2 separate regions of the Homo sapiens genome follow, and region 1 is linked to region 2. Evidence: promoter capture Hi-C in human tissues and cell types (Jung and others, 2019). All regions are on one chromosome and are shown on one strand. Each heading gives the region's core, a stretch centred on a gene start or on the middle of the fragment in contact. The rest is flanking DNA. Distances are from core to core; before and after follow the strand shown.

What was found. The method cuts DNA at HindIII sites, captures the fragments that hold promoters and counts their contacts. A contact is called where the count stands out against the background at its distance.
Region 1: the fragment with the promoter of DHDH here is called in contact with a fragment that was not itself captured in region 2 in 3 of the 25 tissues and cell types used here (aorta, dorsolateral prefrontal cortex and thymus).

The regions. Positions count from the first base shown.
Region 1 is chr19:48,927,344-48,934,948 of GRCh38, forward strand. DHDH (dihydrodiol dehydrogenase) reads left to right here and starts at 6,356. Exons shown (of 7, transcript NM_014475.4): 1 at 6,356-6,468. The coding sequence starts at 6,379. RefSeq lists an enhancer at 5,929-6,430. The HindIII fragment of the contact is 30,682 bases long and covers 1-7,605 here.
Region 2 is chr19:48,630,259-48,637,575 of GRCh38, forward strand. DBP (D-box binding PAR bZIP transcription factor) reads right to left here and starts at 7,121. Exons shown (of 4, transcript NM_001352.5): 1 at 6,598-7,121; 2 at 5,322-5,732; 3 at 3,186-3,397; 4 at 1-794. The coding sequence starts at 6,736. The coding sequence ends at 579. It overlaps SPHK2 (sphingosine kinase 2), which reads left to right. Exons shown (of 7, transcript NM_020126.5): 7 at 1-147. RefSeq lists silencers at 4,293-4,472, 5,183-5,492, 5,613-5,672, 6,709-6,828, 7,059-7,168. The HindIII fragment of the contact is 4,057 bases long and covers 364-4,420 here.

The DNA of each region.
Region 1 (7,605 bases), core at 5,106-7,605, 300 kb after region 2:
TTTTTTTTTTGAGACAGAGTCTCACTCTTGTTGCCGGTGGCTCGATCTCGGCTCACTGCAACCTCCGCCTCCCGGGTTCAAGTGATTCTCCTGCCTCAGCCTCCTGAGTAACTGGGATTACAGGCGCCCACCACGCCCAGCTAATTTTTGTATTTTTAGTAGAGACAGGGTTTCGCCATGTTGGCCAGGCCGGTCTCAAACTCCTGTCCTCAGGTGATCTGCCCTCCTCTGCCTCCCAAAGTGCTGGGATTATAGGCATGAGCCACCACGCCCAGCCAACCCTGTTTCTTTCTTTTTCTTTTTTTTTTTTTTTTGATACGGAGTCTTGCTGTGTCCCCCAGGCTGGAGTGCAATGGCACAGTCTCGGCTCACTGCAACCTCCACCTCCCGGGTTCAAGCAATTCTCCTGCCTCAGCCTCCCAAGTAGCTGAGATTACAAACCCCGTCTCTTAAAAAAGGAAAAAAATCACATGGCAGAGTAGCATTTTAAAATAAAGTCACGAGGCTGGGCGCGGTGGCTCACGCCTGTAATCTCAGCACTTTGGGATGCTGAGGCAGGCGAATCACCCGAGGTCAGGAGTCTGAGACCAGCCTGACCTACGTTGAGAAACCCCGTCTCTACTGAAAATACAAAATTACCCGGGCCTGGTGGCGCATGCCTGTAATCCCAGCTGCTCAGGAGGCTGAGGCAGGAGAATCGCTTGAACCCAGGAGGTGGAGGTTGCGGTGAGCCGAGATCACGCCATTGCACTCCAGCCTGGACAACAAAAGCAAAACTCCGTCTTAAAAAATAAATAAATAAATAACATTAAACTACGTCACTCAGCCTGTGAACAATGGCTCACGCTTATAACCCAGCAATTTGGGAGGCCGCAGCAGGTGGATCACTTGAGGTCACGAGTTCGAGACCAGCCCGGCCAACATGGTAAAACCGCATTTCTACTAAAAATACAAAATTAGCTGGGTGTGGTGATGGGCGCCTGTAATCCCAGCTACTCATGAGGCAGGAGAATCGCTTGAACCCAGGAGGCGGAAGTTGCAGTGAGCTGAAATTGTGTCACTGCACTCCAGCCTGGGTGACAGAGCAAGACTCCGTCCAAAAAAAAAAAAAAAAAAAAAGGGACCATGTTCTAGTGTAGGGGTAAGTGGATTGTTTTGGCCCCAACCCCAAGAGGATCAAGGGAGACCACTGCAGCTGCCCGAGAAATTCTTGCCCTCTGACAAGAAACACCCTATCCAGTCTGGGGAATTTGCCAGTCCAACCCCTCCCCTTGGCTCAAGATTCTGGGAAATCCTAAATAGTGTTTACCATTGGCCTTTTATCAGCTCCAGTATAAATGCGTCTGGCCAGACTTGCTTTACAACTATGCATAATGGATAGTTGGGCCAGGCTTGGTGGCTCATGCCTAGTGCTTTGGGAGGCCGAGGTGGGAGGATCACTTCAGCCCAAGAGTTGGAGGCCAGCCTAGGCAACATGGTGAGACACCATCTCTACAAAAAAAAATTTTATTTTCTGTTTTTTTTTTGAGACGGAGTGTGGCGCTGTCACCCAGGCTGGAGCAACAGAGCCAGACTTTGTCTCAAATAAATAAATAAATAAATAAAACCTGCAAAAAAATTTTTTTAAATGCCATTTTTCTTTCTTTCTTTCTTTCTTTTTTTTTTTGAGGCAGAGTCTTGCTGTGTCACCCAGGCTGGAGTGCAGTGGCGTGATCTCGGCTCACTGCAAGCTCTGCCTCCCGGGTTCACGCCATCCTCCTGCCTCAGCCTCCTGAGTAGCTGGGACTACAGGCGCCCGCCACCATGCCCGGCTAATTTTTTGTATTTTTAGTAGAGATGGGGTTTCACTGTGTTAGCCAGGATGGTCTTGATCTCCTGTCCTCGTGATCCGACCACCTCGGCCTCCCAAAGTGCTGGGATTACAAGCGTAAGCCACCGCGCCTGGCCATTTTTCTTTTTAATCAATCCTGCCACTTGAAGATTATATGGTAAGGGAAATCTGCAGTCTATACACAATACTGAGTTGCTCCAAGCCCTTGAGGATTGTGAGGGACCCAGTGTTCTAATTCTTGCTAGAGTGTCTACCTCCATGTTACCAGAGGCGAGTCTGACCGGGTACTGACATGTGATATACCATTAAGTGTGCAGTGGGTTCTTTTAGCCTTTCCCAAATGTCTTTCCACATGGCAGCGCCCCACAGCATTTTCTTTTTCTTCTTTTTTCTTTTTCTTTTTTTTTTTTTTCTTTTTTTTCCTGGGCAACAGAGTCTCACTCTGTTGCCCGGGCTAGAGTGCAGTGGCGTGATCTCGGCTCACTGCAAGCTCTGCCTCCTGGGTTCAAGCGATTCCAGTGCCTCAGCCTCCCAAGTAGCTGGGATTACAGGTGCACACCACCACGCCCAGCTAATTTTTGTATTTTTAGTAGAGATGGGGTTTCACCCTGTTGGCCAGGCTGGTCTCAAACTCTTGACCTCAGGTGATCCGCCCGCCTCGGCCTCCCAAAGTGCTGGGATTACAGGCGTGAGCCACTACGCCCGCCCTCTTTTTTCTTTTTTGAGACAGAGTCTCACTCTGTTGCCCAGGCTGGAGTACAGAGGTGCCATCATAGCTTACTGCAGCCTCAACCTTCCCAGCTCAAGCGATCCTCCCGCTTCAGCCTCCCTAGTAGCTGGGAATACAGATGCACACCACCACACCTGGCTAATTTTTTGCAGGTTGGTCTCGAACTCTTGGGCTCAAGAGATCTGCCCGCCACAGTCTCCCAAAGTGCTGGGATTACAGGCATGTGCCACCGTGCCCGGCATATTTTCTTTTCAGTGTTTACCTTTTTGCCTCCTCTGAGGTGCTGGAGTGCAGCAATAAGAAAGTAATAATTTTAGGCCGGGCGCAGTGGCTCACGCCTGTAATCCCAGCACTTTGGGAGGCCGAGGAGGGCGGATCACGAGGTCAGGAGATCAAGACCATCCTGGCTAACACAGTGAAACCCTGTCTCTACTAAAAATACAAAAAATTAGCCAGGCGTGGTGGTGGGCGCCTGTAGTCCCAGTTACTTGGGAGGCTGAGGCAGGAGAATGGCGTGAACCCGGGAGGCAGAGCTTGCAGTGAGCTGAGATCGAACCACTGCACTCCAGCCTGGGTGACAGAGCAAACCTTCATCTCAAAAAAAAAATATATATATATATTATATATATATATTTTTTTTTTTAGACCGGGTCTTCCTCTGTTGCCCAGGCTGGGGTGCAGTGGTGTGATCTCGGCTCACTGTAACCTCTGCCTCCCAGGCTCACGCCACTCTCCTGCCTCAGCCTCCAGACTACAGGTGCCCGCCACCACGCCTGGCTAATTTTTTGTATTTTTAGTAGAGATGGGGTTTCACCGTGTTAGCCAGGATGGTCTTGATCTCCTGACCTGGTGATCCACCCATCTTGGCCTCCCAAAGTGCTGGGATTACAGGTGTGAGCCACTGTGCCTGGCCGCTGAGTAGTATTTTGTTGAATCCACTGGCAGCTTAAAGGACATTTGGGCTTGAGCTATGTACAGCTGCTAACACCTGTGCACTGGTTTGTGTGCAAACATGTTATTTTTTCTTTCTAGGACAAATACCTGGGAGTATCAAAATTATTTTTTGATATTTATTATTAAATGATTTTTTCTTTTTCTTCATAGTAATGATATTGTGTCCTATGTGGATTTCCCTCCCCCTAAACCTTTTTTTTTTTTTTTTTTTTTTTTTGAGACAGAGTCTCTCTCTGTCACCCGGGCTGGAGAGCAGTGGTGCGATCTTGGCTCACTGCAACCTCCTCCTCCCAGGTTCAAGCAATTTACCTGCCTCAGCCTCCCAAGAAGCTGGGATTGCAGGCGTCCGCCACCATGCTTGGCTAATTATTTTGTATTTTTAGTAGAGATGGGGGTTTCACCATGTTTGCCAGGCTGGTTTCGAACTCCTGACCTTAAGTGATCCGCCCACCACGGCCTCCCAAAGTGCTAGGATTACAGGCATGAGCCACTATGCCCTGCCCCCTCCCCCCACTTTTTTTTTTTGGTAGAGATGGGGTCTTGCTTTGTTGCCCAGGCTGGTCTCAAAGTCCTGGCTTCAAGCATTCCTCCCATTTGGGCCTCCCACAGTACTGGGATTACAGGCGTGAACCACCGTGCCTGGTCCCATTTGTGTTTCTATTCAGCAGTTTGTGTAAACTTGAAGTCTGTGAATCCATGTGTGACACTCAGGTCTTAATTATTGTCTACCAAGTAAGAGAAAGTGACAATATCCTGCCCTGTGTGAAGCTGGCCAGCCAGTTAGGAATTATCATGTCCCAACCAGCCTGGGAAACTTGGCAAGACCCTGCCTTGATAAAAAGTTTAAAAATCGACTGGACACAGTGTCTCATACCTATAATCCCAGCACTTTGGGAGGCTGAGGCAGGAGGATTGCTTGAGCCCAGGAATTGGAGACCAGCCTGGACAACAAAGTGAGACCTTTTCTGTACAAAAAATTGCTGGGCATGGTGGCTCATGCAGGTAATCTCAGCACTTTGGGAGGCCAAGGCAGGCGGATCACCTGAGGTCAGGAATTCGAGGCCAGCCTGGCCAACACAGTGAAACCCCATCTCTAGTAAAAATACAAAAATTAGTCGGGCGTGGTAGTGGGCGCCTGTCATCCCAGCTACTCGGGAGGCTGAGGTAGGAGAATTGCTTGAAACTGGGAGGTGGAGGTTGCAGTGAGCCAAGATTATGCCACTGCATGATCACCCCAGCCTGGATGACAGAGCGAGACTTCGTCTCAAAAACAAAAAACAAACAACAACAGCAACAAAAATTAGCAGGCTGGGTGCAGTGGCTCATGCTTGTAATCCCAGCACTTTGGGAGGCCAAGGCAGGCAAATCGCAAGGTCAGGAGATCGAGACCATCCTGGCCAACATGGTGAAACCCTGTCTCCACTAAAAATAAAAAAAATTAGCTGGGCATGGTGGAGGGCGCCTGTGGTCCCAGCTACTCAGGAGGCTGAGGCAGGAGAATCACTTGAACCAGGGAGGCGGAGGTTGCAGTGAGCTGAGATCACACCACTGCACTCCAGCCTGGGGATAGAGTGAGACTCCGTCTCAAACAAACAAACAAACAAATAGCGGTAAGTGGGGCACATGCCTATACTCCCAGCTACTCAGGAGGCTGAGGCGGGAAGATAGCTTGAGCCCAGGAGTACAAGGCTGCTGTGAGCTATTATCACGCCACTGCAGTCCAGCTAGGTAACAGAGTGAGACCCTATCTCTAAAATAATTAATAAATAAAACAAAATAATTAGCCAGGTGTAGTAGCCAGTAGCTACTTTGGGTCCCAGCTACTGTAGTCCCAGGTACTAGGGTGGCTAAGGCAGGAGCTAATTCCTTGAGCTAAGGAATTTGAGGCTGCAGTGAGCTATGATTGTGCCACTGCACTCCTTCCTGGGCGACAGAGCGAGACCCTATATCAATAATAATTATAATAATACAGTATATTTTACATAATAGACCATAGAGCTCAATGAATCCTCCTCACAACCCTATGTAGGTAGATGTTATCATGATCTCTGCTTTCCAGAATAGAAAAGTGAGGACCAGAGAGGGCGACCTCTTGTCCAAAAGCAATACAGCCAAGAAGGGGCAAGGAGGGTTTTGAAACCAGTCGGCCAGGCTCTGGGGCTCCTAACAAGCAAAGCAGCCTGGTTTCTAAAACTATAGCTTCTGGAAGCAGCCAATTCACAGGTCTTTACCTCCTGACTGTGAGACCTCCAAAAAATGACCAGGGATCTTGGAGTCTGTTTCCCCCTTTGTGAACTGGGGACAATAGAAGCTACTTCCCAGGTCTGCGGGGAGAAATTAGGAACGAAGAAGGTAAAGCGCAGAGCTGAGGAGCTGGTCTACAGGTGCTCTATACATATTAGTAATAATTATTAAGTTTGCTGTTACAATCCTCTCTCTCTCTGTGAACAACCCCTAATGATGCGTGGCTTTGAGAGCAAAAAAGTCAGGGCAAAGTTTTGCCACAAAGTCCAGAGGGCAAGACATTAAATCTAACTCTCAAGGATTGGTGTTGGCAAGAAAGCAAACCTCTCCTCCCCACGCTGTCCTTACCCCGCGTATCCGACGAGCCTAAAGTCATAGGTAAGAGATCTGTAGAAGCGACGTCAAGGTGTGGTTCCCTCTGTAAGGCGGAGCTAAACGGTGCATTCGCCCAGCGGGGAAGCTAGAACTAAATGACCGCTCTGCCGACTGGAGCCAACGAGAATCGGCGTAGGCGCAATACGGGCGGAGGATGGGGACCCGCCCCCGGGGTGGGCGGGGCGTCAGGTACTTAATTCGCGCCTGGAGGGACCGAAGGTGCCGAGGGCTCCGCATCGCAACCATGGCGCTGCGCTGGGGCATCGTGTCTGTCGGCCTCATCTCCAGCGACTTCACAGCCGTGCTGCAGACGCTGCCTCGCTCTGAGCACCAGGTCTGCCCGCCCTCCGGATTCTGGGGAAGAGGAGGCGGGGGGCGGGACTCCAGAGTCTAAAGGAGGAGGGAGTTTAGGGTTCAGGACTAGTGAGTGGGTCGTCATTGCAGTGAAACGTCTGTTTCCTTGCTACCTCCTTCTCCATCTCTGTTCTGCAAACCTGTGGGGAAAAGAAAGATCAGATTGTTACTGTGTCTACGTAGAAAATGAAGACATAAGAAACTCCATTTTGAACTGTACTAAGAAAAATTGTTTCTGCTTTGAGATGCTATTAACCTGTAACTTTAGCCCCAACCGTGTGCTCACAGAAACATGTCCTGTATTGAATCAAAGTTTAATGGATTTAGGGCTTTGCAGGATGTGCCTTGTTAACAATATGTTTGCAGGCAGTATGCTTGGTAAAAGTCATCGCCATTCTCCATTCTCTATTAACCAGGGGCACATTGCACTGCGGAAAGCCGCAGGGACCTCTGCCCAAGAAAGCCTGGGTATTGTCCAGGGTTTCCCCCCACTGAGAAAGCCTGAGATATGGCCTCGTGGGAAAGGAAGACCTTACATCCCCTAGCCCGACACCAGTAAAGGGTCTGTGCTGAGGAGGAGTAGTGAAAGAGGGAGGCCTCTCTGCAGTTGAGATAAGAGGAAGGCTTCTGTCTCCTGCTCTCCCTGGGAATGGACTGTCTCAGTGTAAAGCGGACCATTCCCATTCCTTCTATTCTGAGATAGGAGAAAACCTACCTGTGGCTGGAGGCGAGATATGCTGGCAGTGATACTGCTCTGTTACTCTTTGCTACACTGAGATGTTTGTGTAAAGTGAAACATAAATCTAGCCTACGTGCACATCCGGTCACAGCACCTTTCCTTGAACTTATTCATGATACAGATTCCTTTTCTACATAGACACAGTAACAATCTGATCTCTCTTTCTTTTCCCCACACAAACCTGAGTGTCTTGAGGTTTGGAAAGGCCTTGATGTAAGCTACTATGAAGATAATTTCAATATTGGGGGATTTAATAACGGCTTTCCCCCAGATCTCTCTTTCCCAGGGCCCAAATGTCCAGCCCCCGTCATCTCTTCCCCCAGGACCACGTCTCCCCTTCCCCTGGCCAGAGCCTCCTCCTTTGCCTCCCTTCCACCC
Region 2 (7,317 bases), core at 1,142-3,641:
GCTAGGATTTGCACTAATGTTCCTCTCCCCGCGGGTGGGGGCGGGGAAATTCATATCCCCTGTTCGTCTCATGCGCGTCCTCCGTCCCCAATCTAAAAAGCAATTGAAAAGGTCTATGCAATAAAGGCAGTCGCTTCATTCCTCTCAGACCTTCTGCCCTTCCTCCATCCGACAGCCCGCGGGAGGACTCAGACTCCAGCACTTCCAGCAGCGCCTGCCCTCTATGGACGACAGCCCGGAGCTGCCCACGGGCTGCAGCCAGTATGCCAGGGAGCTGCCCTCTTCTTCCACAACAGCTGGCTCTGGGGTTCTCAAGATTTATTCAGGATCGTGTTAACGGAGGCGGTGGGAGGATAGGGTCCCTGACGTGCCGGGGACACACACAGAGAACCCTCCCCGCCCCCGCAAGGGAGGGGGGAGGCTCGCTTTTTCTTAAAAATATAAATGTATTTATCTGCATTATCACGTCCCTGGGGCACCCAGCTGGCCGGCCCGTGGGCCACAGGGCAGGAAGGGAACAGGGCGTAAGTCTCAGCAAGGCGGAGGAGAGCTCCGCCAGGTGGGGATGTGGGGCAGCCTCACAGGGCCCCGTGCTGGGCCTGGTATCGGGACAGCACGGCGCGGTAGTGGGACAGCTCCTGGCGCACGGCCACAACTTCCTGCCGCAGCAGGGCGTTCTCCTTCTCCAGGAAGGCCGCCCGCACCGATATCTGGTTCTCCTTGAGCCGCCGGGCGTCACGGGACCGCTTGGCTGCCTCGTTGTTCTTGTACCGCCGGCTCCAGTATTTCTCATCCTGCAGGAGAAGAGGGGGAGAGCACTGAGGTCCAGAGGGACCCAGGTCCCAGCGAGAGAGGAAGGGAGCCCCAGCAGCGGGGCCTAAACCACACCAGGTCTCTGCTGGGATAGGTACCCAAGGGTCTGCCTTTCTAGGGCCCTGGTTGCTAAGGAGATTGGGCCCCTAGCAACAGTAAAGGCATGAGATAGACCCCCCACCCTCAAGCAACTCGCTTCAAGTCTCCACTCTGCAAAGCGGACCCCAGCCCTCCCCACATGATAAAGGCCTGCATGCAGTTAGCTCTTGCTTGCTAAGGATGCTTGTTCCCTAGCAACAAGGCCTTCATGGTCTGAGGGCTTCTCCCAATGAAGAGCACTGCCCTGCCCTGCACATTGCCTTTCCAGATCCTGGTTGCTAAGGAAAGCTTGGTGCCCTGGTGATGGGGTTTGGTGTCCCATAAAATCCTCGCAGAGCTGGGGCCTTCTGACCTGGTTGCCAAGGCAACCTCATCCATCCTTGGCAAACAAAAGTGAGGTCTAAGTGGTTTCAATGACTGTGGCCAGCCTCTGACCTGCTGGCCTTGAACTGAGGCCAGAGAATAGCCTCCTCCCCAGTAGGACCTGACTGAGAGAAGAGCTGTCTCTTAGGAAAGGGGACTATCCTGAGACCTCCCCAGAGGATTATACCTAAAGTCCTCCCATCCTGGAAGTTGGTTCCTAAGGAAGACTCCTCCTTAGTAACCAAGGACCACGGGGCTCAGAAAGATGCTCTCTACTCCACTATTTAATTAAAGCCCAGTTCCTGCTTGTGAGGGTAAATCCAGTCCCTAGCAACAGGGCCCTCTAGAAGGAGAAACCACTGGTGTAGATCTGACTTCCAGGCCAGTCCTAGGTGCTTCAAGTAGCTATGTGTTACGCAAGGGTATGGCAAAGTCTTGTTTGTTTTTGAGATGGAGTCTCGCTCTGTCGTTCAGGCTGGAATGCAGTGGCATGATCTCGGCTCATTGCAACCTCCACCTCCCAGGTTCAAGCGATTCTCCTGCCTCAGCCTCCCAAGTAGCTGGGATTATAGGTGCCCGCTACCATGTCCGGCTAATTTTTGTTCTTTTTTTTTTTTTTTGAGATGGAGTTCTCACTCTGTCGCCCAGGCTGGAGTGCAGTGGCGCGATCTCGGCTCACTGCAACCTCCGTCTCCTGGGTTCAAGCGATTTTCCTACATTAGCCTCCCAAGTAGCTGGGACTACAGATGAGTGCCACCATGCCCAGCTAATTTTTGTATTTTTTTGTAGAGACGGGGTTTCACCATGTTGGCCAGGATGGTCTCCTGATCTCGTGATCTGTCCGCCTCGGCCTCCCAAAGTGCTGTGATTACAGGTGTGAGACACCACACCCGGAACATTTTTGTACTTTTAGTAGAGGCGAGGTTTCACCATGTTGGCCAGGCTGGTCTCAAACTCCTGACCTCAAGTGATCCGCCCACCTCAGCCTCCTAAAGTGCTAGGATTACAGGCGTGAGCCAACGCGCCTGGCCCGGAATGACAAAGTCTTGTAACAGAAGCCCAAGCAACTCTTGCTAGGGAAGACTCCAGTAATGGCAAAAAACAAAATCATGCAAAGATGCAATGACTGCTCAAATCACCCCAAATCAGAAAGTGGCACTGGCTGCTAACAGAAGCCTGAAGTCTCCCACCAGTGAGAAGTCCAGGCCCAGGAAACAAGGCCTAAAGGGGCTGGCACAGTCTTCATCCTAGCCAAATGCAATCACTCCAAAGGAAGTCCCACATCAGAGATCAAAGGCCTGCTGAGTAAGGAGAGACAGGCCACAGGCTGATATCCCATTGCCAAAGGAAGACTGTCCTTTGCAAGTGTGCCTGGTGGAGCTCTGGACCCAAGTAATAGGAGAAGCTCCAAGTCTCTACAAGTAGACCTAGCAGAGCTGGCTGAGTCAGCACCCCACAGTGACACTGTCTTTTGTTTTAAGACAAGGTCTCCCTCTGTTGCCCAGGCTGGAGTGCAGTGGTGTAATCTTGGCTCACTGCAGCCTCAATCTCCCAGGCACAAGCAGTCCTCCCACCTCAGCCTCCCAAGTGGCTTGTAGAAATGGGGTTTTGCCATGTTGCCCAGGCTGGTCTTGAACTCCCGAGCTCAAGAGATCCTCCTGCCTCAGCCCCCTAAAATGCTGGGATTACACGAGTGAGGCCCCTCGCCCAGTTGACACTGTCTTTATAAACCTCAGGCCCCTGCCCCCTTGTGCCCCGTGGCCAAGGAGGACTAATCTGTGGCTGCAGGCCAGGAGAGGCTGAGCACTAATCCCAAGGAGAAGCCCAGGCTTGACTGTGAGAAAAGGCCCCTCCCTGGCTGTGGGGCATGTCTCCAGCCAAGTCTATCTCCCACATCCAGCTCTGCTCACCTTCTGCTCCTCCGGCACCTGGATTTTTCTTGCCTTCTTCATGATTGGCTGGGGCTTAAGTTCCTCTTCTGAGAAGCGATGTCTTCGAGGGTCAAAGGTCTCGTGGCCAGGAATGCTTGATAGGGCAAGATCAGCTGGGTCGGGTTCAAAGGTCATCAACACCTCCACGGTGTCTGGGTCCACAGGGCTGGGTGTGTCCCGAGAGGTCAGGCCTTGGGGAAACAGCACGTGTCAGCTGAGTGTGTATTTTAAGGAGGGGGTTTCCTGAAGCTACTTTTTGCTGTGGTATCATAGCCACATGGAAAGTCCTTCTGGGATCTAGCATAAATTCGGCCAGGGATTAATCTCCCTAATATAAAATATGAAGGTTCCCTTGGCCAGGCGCAGTGGCTCACGCCTGTAACCCCAGCAGTTTGGGAAGCCGAGGCGGCGAATCACCTTTAGTCAGGAGTTCAAGACCAGCATGGCCAACATGGAGAAACCTCATCTTTACTAAAAGTACGAAAATTGCCCAGGTGTAGTGGCGGGTGCCGGTAAGCCCAGCTACTAGGGAGGCTGAGGCTGGAGAATTGCTTGAACCCGGACCCTGGAGGTGGAGGTTGCAGTGAGCTGAGATCATACCACTGCACTCCAGCCCGGACAACAGAGCGAGACTCCGTCTCCAAAATAACGAGAAAAATGAAGGTTCCCCTAAGCCATAAAGATGCTTAGAGATCATGGAGCCATATCCACCTTTACAAACAAGGAAACTGAGTCCCAGTCATAACTGACTTGCCCTAGGTAACACACGAATCAGGGCTATTGCTTCTACACTTGATCTTAGCCAAAAGGCCGAGAAGCGATGGGGCTATTGCTTCTAAAACCTCAGGACTTCAGATGCACAGTCTAGCCTGAATCCTACTTACCGAATCCACGACCTAAGCTTAGACCCCAGACTGTCCAGAGAAAAAGAATCTACTGCACTGAAAAGCTCTCAAGTTAGAGTCTAAGAGCTACTCGCTGGAAAGAGGAGGAGAAGCTGCTCTAAGGTTCCAGAAGATTGGTTCGAAAGGAGGCGCCTGTACCTTTAAGCACCAGCCAGCCGGGGCCAGCTAAGGACACAGGTTCAGGGCCGAGTCACGTGCTGACGCCTGCTTCCCTCCTCCTCCCTTCCTCCCAGGCCCCCGCCATCGGCGCCCTCACGTTCCCCCGGCCCCGCCCCCCTCGCGCTTGAAGGCGCCTGCGCGAAGCGCGGAGGAGGGATGGGAGGACTCACGTGGCGCAGGAATGTGCCGCTGGGAAGGGTAGGGCCCTGGTTCGGCCCGGAGGTCGGACCTGGAGCAGGTGTGCCCAGGAATCCCCGACCTGCAGTCCGTCCCTGGAGACCTCAATGTGCCCAAAGGGAAACATCTTTCCTCTTGCTCTTCCAGTCACTTAGTTCCACTCAACCTCCAAAGATTCCCAACCCCCTGCTCTCCGGGGAGCATCGGCCTCCTGGACCTTCCCAGAACCCCCGCCACTGGGCTACCACGATTCTGGGATCCCAGGCCTCTCCTAGGAATATAGGAAGCTTGGCCCCAGCCCCAATTGGAGGATCCAGAAACAACATCCCTAACGTTTTCCCTTCTGAAGAACTCTGGGACCCGGGGCTGCAGCACGCCCCACTGGGGGACCCAGGGACCTGGGCTGCCAGTCTCTTATGTCCTGGGTAAACAGAATTCTGTGCCTCTCCTTTGCCTTTGCCCCTGTAAAGGACCTAGGGGCTCCAGTCCTATCCCAGTTCCATCGATTATGGGCCCAGATTCGGGGGTCAGTCCACTCCCCAGTAAATAACTCTGGTGTTCCGGACTTCCAGTTCTGGCTTCACGAGTATCCACATCGTTTGTCCCCAAGTCCCACAGAAAAACCCACAAAATCTCATTGGGCAGGCTTCCTGGAATTTAGGGTTCCAAGTCTCTCCTCCCCCATGGATCCATTGGTCCCTGACCCATTAAGAGACACCGAATCTGGCCCCCTCCCACGACACCTCTCGACAACTGGACACAGAATTCGAGGCCGCAGCCAGGTCCCACGGTCCCAGCCCCCAGCGTCGCACAGCCCCGCCCCCTGAGTCCAAGCCCCGCCCCGTCAGGACCCGCCCCGCCCCCTTCGCCGCACCTGCGCGGTGGCCGCTGGCGGTCCCGAGGGCAGCCCGGGCGGGGGCGTGCCCAGGAGAGGAGCGGGGGGAAGCCGAGCCGCACGAACCCGGCCCTGGGGAGGGTGCGGGCGTCCGCGCGGGCGACGGCTCCGGCGACGGGCCACCGGGGGGCGGCGGGCTGGGCGGGAGCCCGTGCTCCAGCAGGAAGGCGTCCAGGTCTACGTACTCCACATCGCCGAACGGCAGCGTGCGCTCCCACAGCAGTGGCGCCAACAGACCCGGGGCGGGCACCGGCCCCGGGCGCCCCCGCGGGGACCCTCCGCCCACCACTGCCCCAGCCGGGGCATCCGCCGGGCCCGCAGTCTCCAGGCCTGGCCCAGGGGTTGTGGCTGCAGGCAGGGCCGCCTTGCGCTCCTTTTCCTTCAGGAGACCTGCGGGCCGGGAAAGACGGGTTGGGATGAGGGTGAGGTGGGGGAGATAGAGATGGAGAAGAGACCCCGAGTCCGAGAGGCACAGGGCGGAGATCCAGAGAAAGAGGGGACGGGGGGTCGGAGAGGAGAGACGGGAGAAAAAGGGACGGAGACGCAGAGTGGGAGAGAGACCCAGAAAGAATGGAGACGGGGGTGGCAGAGACAGGTGGACAGATTCACAGAGATGGGGACAGAATGCCGGGAAGGAATAGACACACAGAAAGACAGCGAACCAGAGAAAGAGAGACGGAAGTTCAGGAATAGGGGGGCAGGGACAGGGTAGGTGGAGGGTTGGGCAGGTGAGAGAAAAAATGACAGCTCTGTAATTTCACTGTAATTACCCAACCCCCATCCCCTGCGCGCTGTACCCCCTTCCCCTCCCCCACCATCTGTAAGGGGCAGGAAGGGGCTCTATTCCTGGGGCACATCCCTCATCCCTAGACTCCATGTGACCCCATGACGCCCCGCCCAAGCCCGTGTCACCACCGTGTGAGCACCCGACACACCCCCTCCCTGGGACCCCAGGGGTCCAGACTCCCGGACCAAAAGGAAGAGGAGGCTGGGGCCTACACTCTTGTGAACTAAGCGGGGAGGACGTTGGGGACGTTGGTGCCTGGGTCCTTAGGGTGGACGGGCTTCAGAGCCGGCGCTTTTGGGTCCTGGGCGCTAAGGGATCTAGGGGCCTAAACACCTGAGTAATTGAGTAGATTAAGGTTGGGAAGATGGACTCCCCGCACGCAGGTTTCTATGGGACCCCACCCCACGGCACCTGAGTCCCTAAGGGGGTAGGGTGTCCGAAGTGGGTGAGATGGGGGTTAGAACTCACAGCTGGCCGGCTCTTTGGGCTTGCTGGTCCCCTGCAGAAGGCTCCGCAACCCAAGCAGCGCTCCCCCGCCAGGGGGTGTCCCGGCCGGGCCGCCCAGCAGCAGAGGGGCCGGGGTCCTGTCGCTCACAGGCCGCGCCATCGCCTGGCACCTGCCCCCAGGCTCACGGGTTCATGGAGAGGCGAAGGGCTGGCCTGCCAGTCACCAGCACACTCCAGTGGTTTGGACGAGTGTCTGCCCAGGGGCGGGCGAGTGTAGCCTGCAACCCTCCAGTATCCAGAACGCTGCAAATCCTAGGAGCGACGGGGATTTGAGGTCCTCGGTGCAGAAACGTGCAACTCAAGAGGGTCCCGGGAGATCATGCAATCTGGGCGAGGGGGTGTCCAGATCAAGCGGTCGGCTCTTTGCAACCGAGGGTGAGAGGGGACTCAAGGCGCTCCTTCTACAAGGTGGGCGAGCCTGGCTCTTGCAAAATCTGCAGCTCTCGCAACGGAAGGCGCTTTGCAATCTGCACCGAGAGGTGTGCGCGGAGGGGCGGAGGAGGGGGCAGGAGGAGGCGGCCGCCTTGAGGCGTGGCCAAAGCAAACTTCTTTCGCGGAAAAAAAAATCCAAACCAAAACACCCGACGCCACAGCGCGCGCCCCTCCTCCGGGTCCCCGCCCGGCGCGTCCAGCCCCGCCAGCCTCTATGGGCATGCAACCCAGCCGCGTGCCTCCCTCCGG